Linked DNA regions of Homo sapiens: region 1 is linked to region 2. The links are contacts of gene promoters, found by promoter capture Hi-C in blood cells and fetal thymus (Javierre and others, 2016). All regions are on one chromosome and are shown on one strand. The core of a region is centred on a gene start or on the middle of the fragment in contact, and the rest is flanking DNA. Distances in the headings are between cores, read along the strand shown.

The links. The method cuts DNA at HindIII sites, captures the fragments that hold promoters and counts their contacts. A CHiCAGO score of 5 or more calls a contact.
Region 1: a fragment that was not itself captured here is called in contact with the fragment with the promoter of PHF21A in region 2 in 1 of 17 cell types (total B cells); the score reaches 5.7 in total B cells.

Annotation. Positions count from the first base shown.
Region 1 is chr11:45,841,621-45,844,320 of GRCh38, reverse strand. No RefSeq gene overlaps it. Among named protein-coding and RNA genes, the nearest start is that of CRY2, 4.5 kb to the left of the region's middle. The HindIII fragment of the contact is 395 bases long and covers 1,195-1,589 here.
Region 2 is chr11:46,120,063-46,122,762 of GRCh38, reverse strand. It overlaps PHF21A (PHD finger protein 21A), which reads left to right and starts at 1,309. Exons shown (of 19, transcript NM_001352027.3): 1 at 1,309-1,828. LOC105376661 (a long non-coding RNA gene) reads right to left here and starts at 618. Exons shown (of 3, transcript XR_931252.4): 1 at 1-618. RefSeq lists silencers at 477-786, 1,227-1,286, 2,700. The HindIII fragment of the contact is 5,748 bases long and covers 1-2,700 here.

The sequences.
Region 1 (2,700 bases), core at 143-2,642, 280 kb after region 2:
CCCGGCCCAGCTTTTTTAAAACTTAAAATATTAAGCATGTTGTATATTGCTGCATCATTACTTTTGTGTTTTTTTGTGGTTTGTGTTGTCAAGTTGATAAAGATGAACTATTAATACTTCATTGAATAATTGCATATTGCTTCAGTATATTAACAGTGTAACATTCAAGAATCGGGAAGTAGGGTGGGTGCGGTGGCTCACGCCTGTAATCCCAGCACTTTGGGAGGCCGAGGCAGGAGGATCATTTGAGGTCAGGAATTGATTGGCCAACATGGTGAAGCCCCGTCTCTACTAAAAATACAAAAAGTAGCCAGGTGTGGTGGCGCGTGCCTGTAATCCCAGCTACTCAGGAGGCTGAGGCAGCAGAATTACTTGAACCCGGGAGGTGGAGATTACAGTGAACCAAGATCACGCCACCAGACTTCAGTCTGAGTGACGAAGTGAGACTTCGGAAAAAAAAAAAAAAGAATCGGGAAGTAAATCTGACACTAGATAGAATACTAGAGTGCAAAGTCCACTTTGGGTTTTTACACTTTAAAAGGGACACAGAGAAATTGGACAGAGACCAAAGAAACCTGTACATTGCTAAGGAAGTGAAATGTAATGGGGTACTATTGTCTCTTCGAGAGAAATAAAAGCTAATTTTTGATCTCATAATAATGCACTCTAGTGTACACCTTGTAAAAAGTACCTCCAAAGAGTGGTTGTCATGAGGATGCCAAACAACCTAGTTTACACTAGGAAGAGTGAAAGATTGGAGAGACTTAGGATAAGGTGCTTTAAGGATGAGATGAATTAGCCAGGAACTGAGTGGCGTCTTTCTCCCCCGAAGATACTTACGCAGATAGATCAGTCCTGTTTTGTCTCTTTTTGTTAATGTCCTGCATGGAGACTGGATTAGACAACTTTCTACTTTGGCTTTGAACTGCGCTTTGGGTAAATATTTGATGATTGGCTGAAGGTAACCAGGCGCGGCGGGAGGGAAGTCCCCGGCCAGTTTAAGTTATCCGCGCCCTCTAGTGGTAGGACTGGGACAGCGGCGGTTCGGTTTGCGGCTGGGCGGGGAACACCAGGACCAATCCAGGGTGCAGAGGTGGCATGCCTGTTCCCAAGGCTTCACGCAAAAGCCTATTTTGATGTAGTGACGTAAAATGTTTGTTCTTGGAACTGTTAAGCTTGAGAAGCAGTAAAGCTTATTGAGAGCACAGACCGTAAAACTAAACTCCCTGGGTTCCATTTCCAGATCTGACATTAACTAGCAAATTACTTAATTGGGCGAGCTAATTAACCTCTCTGTGCCTTAGTTTCCTCATTTGTAAAATGGGGATGATGATACTTATAATAAAAGTACAATATGAAATTAGGGAAAGGTCAATAGACTAATAAGTCAGAATTGAGAATCCAGAAACAGGTCCACATGAATCTGGACATTTTATTCACGACAAAGATGTCTCCGTAAAGAAGTGGGGAAAGTAATGGGTCAATCAGGTATTCCATTGTAAAAAAGTGAAACTTGACTCCATCTCACAACATACAAATCAATTCCAGATAGATTATATGCTTAATGTGAGGGGTAAAACGATAAAGCTTTAAGAAGATTGTATTGGAGAATATCTTCGCAACCTTGGGGGAAGACAAACATTTCTTGAAAAAGACATGAAAAGCACTAACCATTAAAGAAAATGTTGATGAGTTGGACTGTGTTAAAATTAGGAACTGTTAATCAAAAAACATTATTCGGAGAGTGAAAAGGCAAACCATAGAATGAGAAAAGATACTTACATAATATTTATAATTCTTAAAGAGCTCAAATCCAGAATATGTCAACAGCCCTTAGAAATCATAATAATAAAAAAAGATAGGCAATCCAATTTGAAACTAGGCCAGAGACTTGAATAGGCACTTTCTGTAGAGTCCTAATTAGGCAAAAGGAGTCAGACTGGTGGGATTGAAGGAAAGCAAAAAGAAAAAGCAGATAAACTGTAAGTCTACCTTTCTTTGTGGCCCAGGACACATAGCCCTCCTGTGCAAATAACTCACAATCTTCCTGTGCCCAGCTATCACCAGTCCCTTGGCTGATAGCTGACTGCAACCTTGGCATTATCAGCACTGCACAAAGCCCTCTTCAGTACACAGCACAAGCACCATCCTATAAAATCCCCAGCAAGCCTTTGTCTCTTTGTAGTCAGCTCCTCTCTTGCTGACCTGCCCATTGTACCCTTGCAATGTCTTTTCATACTTTCTCTAATAAATCTGCCTTTCTTTACCTACAACTGTCCTCGTAAATTCTTTTTACTGCCTGCACAACACTGGCCCCAGATAGTGGCTACCTGCGACACTTTCCACACACCCCCGCCCCAAAGGATGGATATTTAAGTGGGCAATGAACACATGAAAAGGTACTCACCTTCATTAGCTCATTAGGGAGCTACAAATTAAAACCACAATGAGGTACCACTATAGGCCCGCAAGAATGAATAAAGTTAAAAGGATTGATAAAACCAAGTGTTTGGGAGGATGTGAGCAATTAAAATACACTGCTGTTGGGAGTGTAAATTGATACAACCACTTTAAAAAAGTGTCTGTTATATATTAAATTCGAAAAGCCAAATACCTTACAAATCATGAACGATATATTCTATGACCCAGCAGTTTCACTCCTAGCATATACTTAACAGAAATCCGTGCACATGTGCACCA
Region 2 (2,700 bases), core at 60-2,559:
AAAAAAAAAAAGGCCCTCCCCCGCCCCGCCAAGAAATCTCTCAAAACAAGAATTCTTCTGATGTTTTTCTCCTCCCTGCAATTCTCCATGTTACAGTCCTTGGAGGTAGAATAGGCATAAAATACTTTCACTAATAAAATATGACAAACCGCCGGATTATACGTGGCCGATTCCCAGTGATTGCCCTGCTACACAAAGCAGAAAAGTAAATGCCATCATCCCCCTTAGAACAAAAGAACTTAGGAATAAAAAACATGGAGAGGGGGGAGAAAGCAGCAATAAATAAAGGTGAGCGAAGGCCCCCGTCCCCCGCCCCTCCCGGGAGCGAGTGCTGGACTAAGTACTGCTAATAAAGTGGTTCAAGGGTAGTTATTTGGAAAGGGGGCGGGGTGGCGAGGGGAGGGAGCGGGCGAGCGGCGGCCGGGGATTGCATGTTGCATTCGACTTGAGGTTGCATCTTTCTCCTGTTGCCTGGACCACGCTCCCCCATTGCAGTGCTTCCCCATCACTTCTCCTCGCTCCTGCCCCTCACGGCTTTCCCCCCCCCCCTTCAAACTGCTGTTGCACTGGAGGGAGTTGGGGCCGCTCTGGAGCCCCTTTGCAGCTCCCGCCGGCGGGAGGGGGGAGTTGGGCTCGGGCCGCGGAGTTGGGGGGGCCGCCGCGGGCTCCGGCCTCGCCTCGGCTGCGGCTGCACGGGAGCCGAGCTGCGGCGCTGCACGGGCCCCGGAGTTTGGCTGCCTTCGCCGCCGCTCGGTGCTCGGCCCCATCACCGCCGCCGCCGCCGCCGCTGCACTGGAGTTTGGCTGCCGCTGCCCTACTTCACTCTAGTTTAGTTTCACTCACTTTACATCCGGGTTTTTTCCCTAGGCAATGGGTGCCGCAGCACACCCCGTTCCTTAGGCAAAGTGAAATAAATTCGCCGCACCGACACGTCAAGTAGTCCGCCCGCCCGAGCGCCGCCGCGGGCCCCCGTCGCCCCCCCCGCCGACGCCCCACCGCCCCCGGTGGGGGGACCCGAGCGTCCCGGGAGCCGCGGGCCGAGGCGCGGGGGCCCGGGCCGGCCGCCGTACCACTCCGCCCGGCGGCCCCCTCCCTCCCCGCCGCGGCCCGCTCTCCCCCGGCGCCTCCTCTCCCCTCGCCCTCGTCCCCGCTTTCCCAGCCCCAGTCCCTCTCGCCCGGCTCTCGGGAGCGGCGGGGGCGCGCACGGCGGCGGCGGCGGCGGGCCGGCGGGGCCGCGCGGCGGGCTCCCGCGCGGGCGAGTGTGTCTGGGCCTGGGCGGAGGGATCCCCGGGCTGAGGCGGCGGAGGTGCTGCGGCCCGGGGCCGGGTGGTGAATGGGCTGGTGGTGCTCGCTGCTGCTGCTGAGAGGAGGAGGAGGATGAAGAGTTGGGCTTGTTTGTCTCCTACAGTTTCTCTCCTGCTGCTCTGATTCCCCCCTCCCGATTCCGGCCCGGGGCCTGTGTGTGTCCCTCCTGGAGGAGGAGGAGGATCCAGTTCCTCCCCCCAACCCCCTCCTCCCCACCCCCCCTTGCCTGGGGAAGAGGAGGAAAGAAACAGCCCAGAGAGAGAGAGAGAGAGAGAGTGAGTGAGAGAGAGAGGAGAGGAGAGGAGGAGGAGGAGGAGGGAGAAGGGAACAACCTACCATCTTAACACACTAATATCTAAAAAGTGCGAGAGGCCCAGAGCAGCAGCAGAAGCAGCAGCAGCAGCTCCAGCTTCTTCCCTCCCTCCCCATGAAGAAGAGTTCCCTCCTCCTCCTCCTCCTGCTTCTCCTGCTCAGAGTTCCTGCCTCCAGCTGCCAGGGGGGACAGCCAGCCAGCAGCAGGAGGGTGCAGTATCCCAGCTTTTCCATTCTCTCTTCTTCTCACTCTCCTCTCTCTCTTTTTTTCTGGAGTAGCTCTATTTCCCCTCCCTCCCCCTTCCCCCTCTGCCTCTCTCCTCTCTCCCTCTGTCTTGTCGCTGGTGTTTGTCTCTGGGAGGATCAGGGGCTGCCTGCTTGGAGTTTGTTGTGGGGGGAGGTAGGGGGAGGGGAGGGGTGTGTGGGAGGGAGGAGGGAAAGGGGGGTGTTCTCGTCAGGACCCCTCAGTCAACTTGAGATTTGAGCAATAACTTCCCCTTCGGGGCGCCCCCCTGCGTGCCCTTCCCATACCTCCCCCCCGAAAAAAAAGACAATGGGAAAACCTTGGCTCCCCCCCCTCCCCTCTGCCCTCCACCCCTCCCCAGGATAAATTGGAAGTAAGTTTATGAGCAGCCTCGGAAGCCTGGGCGCAGAGTGCAGGGCCGGAGCCGGTGACAGAGGCGGCGTGCCGGGGGCGGCGGGGAGGGGGCGTCACATTGTCCCGGCGGGGGGCCGGCCGGGGGCTGCGGGCGGGGGCGGGGGGCACGGAGCCTCGCCCGCCCCCCCTCGGCTGTCCCTCGGCCGGGGAGGTAGCTGGGGCTCCTCCATCCCCCCCACCCCACCCCGGGATGCTGTCGGGGGGAAGTTTTTATTATGATTATTTATTTAATTAAAAAAAATTTTTTTTTGGAAAACCATCTTGTTTGTTGACTGAGGGATCTGGTTTAAAAAAAAAAAAGCTGCGGCTGCTGACGCTGCCGGGCCCCAGTGTGTGTGTTTGTGTGTGTGTGAGTGTGAGTGTGTTGGTGCATTTGTCTTGGGTGGCCGGAGCAGCGTTGGGGAAATTCCGCTTATTCTTCTTCT